Regions from separate parts of the Homo sapiens genome. Here region 1 is linked to region 2. Evidence: promoter capture Hi-C in 16 types of primary human blood cells and fetal thymus (Javierre and others, 2016). All regions are on one chromosome and are shown on one strand. Each heading gives the region's core, a stretch centred on a gene start or on the middle of the fragment in contact. The rest is flanking DNA. Distances are from core to core; before and after follow the strand shown.

Region 1 (4,947 bases), core at 748-3,247, 85 kb before region 2:
TCCACAACCTCCTGGGCTCAAGCAATCCTCCGGCTTCAGCCTCCCAAGTAGCTGGGACTATCATGTGCCACCATACCTGGCCAGATTTTTAATTTTTTTTTTTTTTTTTTTTTGTAGAGATGAGATCTCACTCGGTTGCCCAGGCTAGTCTCCAACTCCTGGGCTCAAGCAATCCTCCCAAAGTGCTGGGATTACAGGCATAAGCCACCACGCCCAGCTAAACATCTCTTCAACTGAACTCTTAAGGTCTACGAAAAAAGAGAATGTAATATCATATTTTACTTGTACCACAACCACTCCACCCTATCCCCAGCCCTGCTGTTAGCATAGGACCAGACACACAGAAGACTATTAGCACTTGTTAAATGAGTTGTCATCTGTCCAAATTTTTGTTAACACTTTATTTTATAGCTGCTTTTCTATTTATTCTGCAGTTCATTCTCTAACACTGCTGCCTATGAAGGTTGCATCTCTCTTTACCCTTCCTTTCCTTTATTTCACAGAAATACCCATTCTTCCCTATCCCCTCAGATATTTTTAGTCATCTCATTCATGAACTACCAAAAACCTCAACTTCCTCACAGCCCCCACTCTTCTACTTAGAACCAAATACTGCTAAGTAACATTAATTTCCTTTTTTTTTTTCTTTTGAAATTTTTTGTAGAGACAGTGTCTCACTCTGTTGCCCAGGCTAGTCTCAACCTCCTGGGCTCAAGCAATCCTCCTGCCTCAGCCTCCCAAAATGCTGGGATTACAGGCATGAGCCAACCACATTCAGCCTTAATTTGCTAATGTTTTGAACACATCACTTTCTGTACCTTCTTTCCATGTTGAGCTACATCAAAACTAGCTTTGATTTTCTAAATGACAAGACTGCTACCTCCCCTCATTCCAACCCTTGCCAAAACCCACTCTGTGTAGGGAAACCATTTCAGAGCTCACTGGTCAGATGAATATCCACCCACCAAAAGTTCTGAGAGTTCACCCACCTTTCTGCCTGTGTCAAATTTATTTGGGAAAAAAAACAGTGTCAGTTGAGATAAAAAGCCTATAGAAGAAATGTTTGTTGGTGTTGTGTGGGTGTGTCAGAGGATGAACACATGCATGTGTGTTTATGTACATGTATTACATATGCAGACACACACATACACACATACACACACACATATATAATAAATATATTCTGCCCAAATTAGCACAAACCCACAAGCTTAAAAACCAAATCTGCTAAATCTGACTCAAACAACAGGTACTGAGCCTACAGCTACTTCCTGCAAGCAGATGCATTACCTCTGTGACAAAGTCAGTTGTGAGTTGCAAAAAGGATAGGTAAATATCATTAAGATAAGTTAAGATTCTGCTTTCTAAAAAAATTTAAATGCAAAACATTACCTCAGGACACTGGCCACACTGTATGATTTCTGCATAATACCCAGCATATCCTAGACACTAAAGAATACTAAATTTACAACTTAAGCAGGAAAACAGAGGCTTGCTTCACAGTGGTTTAATATGAACAGAGTTGAATATGACATTGTCTGACAGAAGAATGAACAGTTTGCTGAATAAAAGCCCCGAGTCAGGATATATATACACAGCAGAAATGGGGCCTCAGACTCTCAGCACTTGTGCACAATGAAAGAGGAAATCGTTTTTAAAAAATGTCTATAACAGAGGATACAAATCAAAAAGGCAGCAACAACAACATTGGCGAGGTGGGAAAGGGAGCAGAGCCTCTCATTAGGGGCTGCTTAGCCCCTGGCGCAGGCTCAGCAGCTGGAGAGCTGTCTCAGGGAACTTCAACATTTAGATGGGTTCCAAATCCTATGTCAAAATACAATCCTAATCTCTCTGATCAGGGTCAGTCAGAATCAGCAATCCTTTTCCACAGTGCCCTGCATAGAAAACTCCAATCTTTCCATGATAGGGAGTCTAAGCAAAGAGCCCCCACCTCTCACCTGGCACCAAAGTTAACTTACTCTCACCCCACCACTTGGGACAGACGTTGGGCCCCAGCAAACAAACCACCCCCTCCAAGACAGAAACCAGGATAGTTGCCAGCCTCAAGAAGCTGCTTCAAATGTTAAGATTTAGGAAATCCATACCAAGCTGCTATCCATAGTTCAACTTCTGGGGAAAATGCTGGAGTTGCATGAGAAACAAGTGCAGGCAGTTCAATAACCCTGTGACCACGCTGGGGAGGGCAGCAAAAACTCTTGCCCCTGAGCCCCATTCAACAACTCAAAGTGCTTAGGAGAAGTCAGAGACTGTGTGGTTGGTTTGTGTGCTTCTGCCCTGTGGCAGCACTAAATGGGATGGGGGAAAGGAGAATGGAAGGAAGACAGTGTTGATGCCCTTCCCTACCGCGGGTAAGAGCCTAGAAGATAATCCACTCCCACCCTTCAGGGAGTTACCTGGCAGTGGTGAGTTGCCCCCACCCCTCAAGCCACCAAACCTGCAAAGCTAACCCATAAAGTAGCAAGGGCTTAGGGAGGGAGAACTGCTGGCCCATACTGACTCACCAGCTGATGAGCAAAAATAGGCAGCTAGAGTGGGAGCCACAAAGGGAGAGGGGCTAGGCAATAGGAGCTCCCCTACTGCCCTATGGCTTTCTTCTGACTCTGAAGCAGCCATAATGATGGGCCCAGAAAACCCACACACCCTGCTCCATACAACAGACTGCTTGGACTCTAGGAGGATTACTGCCATGGAAAGCAACAAGGGAGAGAGAAAGCAACAAAAGAAACTGTTAAGAAAACTGGGAGCAGGCCTGAAGAAAACAAGGAAAGCTTCTGAGTCTCTACCACCTTTCCAAAAAGGAAAAAATACATGCAGTTAGGAAAGGCAGGGTTTTTCCCTGCTCAGTGTTCTTGGTTAAACCTAAGAGTAAGAAAAATCCCCTGAACTTGCAGCATCAGTATGTATCCAAGTGCCTCACCAGCACAAGCGCCCCCCTCCCCCCAGGTTAGCCTTCTGGCATGGGTAAATGCCCAAGAAATTGCCTTCCAGTCTAATCCCCCCACCCACCCACCCCAACCCCAAGCAAAGGGCATCTGCCTGTGGGTTCCCACCTCTCCTCAGAGAAGAGGATCCTAGCAGAGTGCCCACATGGTGTAGTCAGGTACCAGGGAGCACAATGCCAGACAGTCTATCAGGCCAGGAGATGGGCAGCCAACTTCAGATCAAAGACAGAGAGAGGCTTAGTGTAAAAACCAATGTCATTTCAGCAGGAAAGTAGAGGGCAGGTGGTGAGAGGGGCTCCTACTGGCGCACCTTCCCCGGGACGTAGTTCCTGTCAATTGCCTCCTCTTGCAGGAACATGTGTAGGCAGCGTTCATTCTGAGCCAGTGGGTGCCCAGCAATTCTATAAAGAAACCAGGATGGTTATCAGTAGTATTCAGAATCAGAGAGAATTAGCAGAGGGATGGGGATGTGGACAGGGGAAGAAGGGCAAGGTCAGCCCTGAGGTTCAAGCCAGTAGAGGACAGCAGTAGGGTACCACCTCAACCCTAATATTGTAAAGGGGACGGGGGATAGAGGGGCAAGACAGGGAAATCCCTAGATATAACCAACATGCAGTGCTTTCTCAGGCCCTGACACACAGGATCAGAATCCTACTCAAAGGAATGGAGTTTTACTGTCCAGTCAGCCCACCACACAATTGGCACCACATCATGGTACCCATTATAAAAGGTGAGCTGGGTGCGGTGGCTCACGCCTGTAATCCCAACACTTTGGGAGGCCAAGGCAGGTGGATCACTTAAGGTCAGGAGTTCGAGACCAGTCTGGCCAACATGGTGAAACCCCATCGCTACTAAAAACATGAAAATTAGCTGGGCATGGTGGCCGGCGCCTGTAATCCCTGTTACTCAGGAGGCTGAGGCAGGAGAATCACTTGAACCCAGGAGACGGAGGTTGCAGTGAGCCGAGATCACACCATTGCACTCCAGCCTAGGTGACAGAGTGAGACTCTGTCTCAAATAAATAAATAAGTAAATAAAAATAAAATAAAAGGTGAGGTAAACAAAACATATAGAAAGACTACGATGGCAAAAGTAGCAAGTGGAGCCCCCAGGAACTTGGCTTACTTGTTAATAAACTGCTCGAGGCCCTGCCTCCTTTCTTCGATGAAAGACTCCTCAAAGATCCCTTCATCTCCTCGGAAAGGGAGCTGCCGCTTCAAGGCTTTCCCAGGCAGTGGTGGTACTACAATCTGCAGGCACACACAAAATTCCAGCCACATGGGAGAGAGACAGAGTGGGAATGAGATGGTAAAGCACCGTGTACCTCATTTCTTATTAGGCATAGGGTCCATCCTGTCCCACAGCCAGCAACTTGCAAGAACTAAGACCATAAGAACAGTCAGGATGGCTCAGGTCAAAAATTAATCCGTTTCTGTGGGAAGACAGGTTTACCACCTCAAAAGAAGGAAATAAACTCCAAATAATCCTCACTTTCCTTAACAAGCCACTACCATTCAAGAATTTAGCTAGGATTTTCCTGACACTAGACTTTCCATTTTTAGCACCTACAGGAATTAAGTTGTACAACTTTACTAGCGACTAAGTGAAGTAATACTTTAAAAAAAAAACTTGTCCTGAACTTACCACTTTCTTTTTTTTTTTTTTTTTTTTTTGAGACAGAGTCTTGCTCTGTCATCCAGGCTGGAGTGCAGTGGCACGATCTCAGCTAACTGCAACCTCTGCCTCCCAGGTTCAAGCAATTCCCATGCCTCAGCCTCCCAAGTAGCTGGGATTACAGGCATCCACCACCACACCTGGCTGATTCTTGTATTTTTAGTACAGGCGGGGTTTCACCATGTTGGCCAGGCTGGTCTTGAACTCCTGACATCAGGTGATCCGCCCGCCTCAGCCTCCCAAAGTGCTGGGATTACAGGCGTGAGCCACTGTGCCCAGCCAGAACTTACCACTTTCAAGTTTCAAAAGG
Region 2 (4,434 bases), core at 64-2,563:
TAGGACAGAGAACTTCCCTGAGAGTCACATTCCTGGATGAAAAATTGCCCTCCATTGGCATGTGCCATCATAGAATAGGTCGTGGAAGGACCGTTTGGTTCTAGGAGGAAGAGAGACCAGTAAAAATAAGCACCCTTTCTCTCTCTGCCCTACTGCCAGAACTGCCTGTTCTCACGTGACCCACCTTGGCAGTTACCCAGGATGACTTGCTCGCTCCCATTTTACAGTAGAGAAAACTCAAAACTGTTGCCCCAGAGTCACATTTGGAGCTGCGGCAGGGCCATTCTCGCCCTCTTGCTTTCCAGTTTGAGTTCTAGATCCAAGGCTGTCCAGGAGAGCCAACTGGTTTACTACAATGGAGTCTTGGAGTCTTCTGCCCTGCCTAGCTAGGGCTGGAAGAGGATCAGCCTCAGCCTTGTGAGTGGGTGGTACAGGATGATTTGACAACTTAAGGATAACATGCAAGCCATAGTTGCACCCTATTACTGGGAAGTGTCTAGTGTGCTGGCAAAACCAGGAGCACCAATCAGTACCCAAGTTATAAAAAATAAAATAGCCCTCTTTGAGGCCCACGAAGCCCTTGCTTATATGGGACTTACCAAGTTTAAGAGTTGCGTGCACAAGGAATGGAACTCCCCAACAGTGTAAAGGCAAACATGACTGAAGCTTTCTTCTCACTTATTCTATCCTGACATAAACATTCTGAGGAGCCACAGGAGTACAGGCTTGGCTGGGATGAGGGACATTCAGAGGGGCTTGGGGGTTGCTAAACAAATGGCAGGTGCGCCACATACAAAAACACAAGACACAAAGACACTGAACCTGGAGGGGAGAGACTGAAATGGTCAGACAACTGGCATGCTGACAGTCTGACATGCCCCAGCAGAAGCAGCAGAAGGGAACAGCATTGACCTTTGGGAGAGTGACAGGATGAGAGCAGAGTGGCCCCACTGGTTGCTGCTTGGGTAGTGCTGGCGCTGAGAAATAAGGGATGCTGATTGAGGTGGAGGTGTGTTTTTGTGTAGTATGACTGAGGGTTCCTGCAGGCAGTGCCTCAGTTTCTCCCTTTGGGACAAAGTCTCAAGCTTTGCGGGTAAAGTTTGGGCTAGCTGCCCTGGAAGATCACCTGTCTGATAGCTTGCAATCTGAGGTGTGTGTGCGCGCCCGCGTGAGAGAGAGGGAGCGGAACGTGCCTGAGCATGGGGGGAATTGGGCCATGCCCCAGGACTTGAGCCATCTCTGGCACAAAAGGAGTTAATGGCAGGGACCGCGCCCCCCCGTGTCCGGGAACGCGCAGCGCGCCCCCTCGGTGCGCGGGCACAGCAGCCAGGCTGCCGGAGAGCTGATCTCGGGGATTCGGGTGCGGAGCCCTTGGCCTGGAGGCGATATGGGTGGTCCGTGGCCCGGTTCAGTCGCTTGCAGCAGCCCGGGGAACAGGTGAGGCCGCCTGCCCCGGTCTCTCATCCTCTAGCTGCCCATACCTTGCCCCCATCCTAACCCCTCCCAATCCCAGGCTCCTCCACTCCCCAGCCAGTGGCCCCCATCCCTCTCAACCCCATGTTCTCCATCGGTACCCCTGACCCCCGATCCTCCCCCGCTTCTGTTCTCCCTTCTACCTCCTCCCTAAATCCCGCATCCCTAACATCCTCCCGCCCATGGTCCCTCTATTTCCACAGCCCATCCCGCATGCTCATCAAAATACCCCTATTGAGGGCCCCCAGCCCCATCCCGGGATTGCACATTGCCAGTCCCCCCTCCCCTGCAGTGCAGCCCCATCCCCCTTCCATCATAGCATCTCATAGCCAGGCTCCCTCCCCCACTATCTGCAGCCCCCCCACCCAATGGAGGCCTTTATCCTATCCTCCCCCATTCCAGTGCAACTCCATCCCCCAATCCATTCCAAGCCCTCGTAGCCCCCAATACTGCAGTTCTCAATATTGGTCCATTCCTGCACAATGCCCCGCGCCCAGCACCGCTGCAGCCCCAAAAGTACCCCGAGATGCCATTCTCATCCCCGGCATTGCTGCCTCCCCTTGTCTTCTCCCAAATTGCAAGTTGGACCAGGATGGAGATCTTGGCCTTGGGGATTCACAGTGGGTCCTAGGGTACAGAGGGCGTTTGGGGGTCGGTCCGATTGTCTAGGTGTTCACGGGGGAGGGGCTGCAGGGAATTGACTCAAAGGAGAATTTGGCATTTGGCGCCGAAGGGTTACTGGAGAGGAGGGCATCCCGAAAGGGTTAATGGAATTTGTGGGTTGGGGGCAGCACCGAGGGGGTTAATGTGGGGGGGTTGCTGGTGGGGAAGCTGTGTGAATGAGCGGTCTGTGCCCTGGAGTTGCCATGGAGACGGTGAATGGGGGGATTGTGTGAACTCAGCTGCGGACTATGCCCCCCCCAATACACACACCCACCCACTCCCTCCTGCCCCACCTCCCTACTCCTACCCCTTCCTTCCCCTTCCCCTCCTCCCCACACCCGGGTGCATTCTGGGCAGTGTCTGGGATCTTACCCCCCATACTTTGCTCCCCATTTCCTCATTTCCTCTGAGCCCCCACCCCTTTAGCCACTTTACCCGCCCTCCCTCCTCTTCCTTTTTCTTCTCTCTCTCTCTCTCTCTCTCTCTCTCTCACACACACACACACACAGACACACACACACACACACACACACACACACACACACACACACACACACATTCTCATTCCCCTCTCGTGGTGGCTGATTGCCGGGCGTTCCCAATCTCCCTCCCCCACCCCTTCAGCCAGTTCTTAAAGGAGCAGGCCTGCAATCTGGGAAGGCGGGAGAAATGGAGGAAAACTAAATGTGCATGTGGCGTGGGTGTGCGTGTGTGTGCGTGTGTGTGCGGGAGCATGCGGGAGTATCTGTGTGTGCCTGTGTCTATGTGTTGACTGTGTAACTGTGTCAGAAGGCCTATGTGTCTGAGTGTGTTGCTATTTCTGTTTCTGTCTCCACCTATGTGTCACCATTATGCTGCATGTGTCTGGATATTTACCTATGCGGGTATGTGTGATTATATTTCAGTAAGTCTCTATGTGTGTCTCTGAATGTATCATTCTGTGAGGCTCTGGCTGTGTGAGGTGCTCTGTCTCAGAATGTGGGACTATATGAGGGGATCTCTGTGGGTTTGGAATATATGTCTCTGTGAGTGAATATCGCAGTGTCTGTGATCCTGGCTTGGTCTCTCTCATTCCCTCTTTGAGTCTTTGTGAGTTTATTTCTATGAGTCTCTGAATATGTGTTCCCCATGCTCCGTTGTTTATTTTATAATACACCGGAAGAGCATCCACAATGCCTAGGGTGCTAGGCAGAACTCTTTCTGCCTCACTTCTGGAATTCGGTGTGAATTAAGAGAGAGCCAACCGAAAGGACCAAGGCTTAAGGATTTGGGAGCAGTGAGGGCTGAGGAGAAATGTACAGGAGGGGCGCAGGAGGGTCCGAGGAGGACTCCCGTGAATGGCTGTCCCGCCCTCTGCCCTGCCTGAGGGTGAGGGAGTCTCTCTGTGGGACTCTGCCGATTTGCTGCTTTCTGTTCTTGTGTCTTAGTGTCCCGGAGTGAGGTTGACAATCCCACCCTGTCCTGAAGTGGAGGTCCCTGTGTGGGCTTACCAGGTCCCAAGGGCTACACAGCTCTGTTCAAGCAGCATGCCCAGGGACCTGAGCTCCATTTTTGTTTCTCCCCACCCCCTGGCTGTCACATGCTATTCTGGCTCCAGCCGACCCTGATGAACCCCTTTGGCTGTAGAATTGAAGTTGGGCACCGGGAACTTGCAGTGGCAACAACTGTCACTGTCAAACCCCTTGGATTTTCCAGCCATGGCCAGGCACATAGAATGGTTCTGATTGGCAGTGGATCATCTGTGGGATCACAGTCCCTGGGCCCCTGGGCATGTGAAACCTCTCCTACCTATAAGAGAATAGCCCAAGCCCAGCAGGGCCCCCAAAGACCAACTCTGTTGCCCTCCCAGACCATCTTGGATGACGCATACTTCCCTCTTTCCACAGGCCTGTCTGGCCCTGAGGGAGTCCCCTTTCTGAAGCTGTGGTGCTTGGACGACCTGCTCTCTACATTGCTGGGCACCTGTAGGTGTCCCTCGAGAGCTCAGTTTTGAGGTTCAAGTCAGTGTGGCCATGAAGGGGCTGCCTATTGGGCTGATGCTGTGACCCTGGAGTCTGCCTCTCCTGCCAGTCCCCCTGCCCGGAACATGTGGCTGCGGCTTGGCCCGCCCTCGCTGTCCCTGAGCCCCAAGCCCACGGTTGGCAGGAGCCTGTGCCTCACCCTGTGGTTCCTCAGTTTGGCGCTGAGGGCCAGTACCCAGGCCCCAGCACCCACAGTCAACACTCACTTTGGGAAGCTAAGGGGTGCCCGAGTACCACTGCCCAGTGAGATCCTGGGGCCTGTGGACCAATACCTGGG

Evidence for each region. The method cuts DNA at HindIII sites, captures the fragments that hold promoters and counts their contacts. A CHiCAGO score of 5 or more calls a contact.
Region 1: a contact is called between a fragment that was not itself captured here and the fragment with the promoter of NLGN3 in region 2, in 2 of 17 cell types (monocytes and total B cells). The highest score is 5.7, in monocytes.

Annotation. Positions count from the first base shown.
Region 1 is chrX:71,057,755-71,062,701 of GRCh38, forward strand. It overlaps SNX12 (sorting nexin 12), which reads right to left. Exons shown (of 4, transcript NM_013346.4): 3 at 4,089-4,213; 4 at 1,493-3,364. The coding sequence ends at 3,262. Among named protein-coding and RNA genes, the nearest start is that of SNX12, 8.1 kb to the right of the region's middle. The HindIII fragment of the contact is 1,579 bases long and covers 1,209-2,787 here.
Region 2 is chrX:71,143,528-71,147,961 of GRCh38, forward strand. It overlaps NLGN3 (neuroligin 3), which reads left to right and starts at 1,314. Exons shown (of 8, transcript NM_181303.2): 1 at 1,314-1,437; 2 at 4,023-4,434. The coding sequence starts at 4,223. LOC124905197 (a long non-coding RNA gene) reads right to left here. Exons shown (of 4, transcript XR_007068262.1): 4 at 1-100. RefSeq lists a silencer at 2,130-2,385 and an enhancer at 3,960-4,434. The HindIII fragment of the contact is 4,718 bases long and covers 1,084-4,434 here.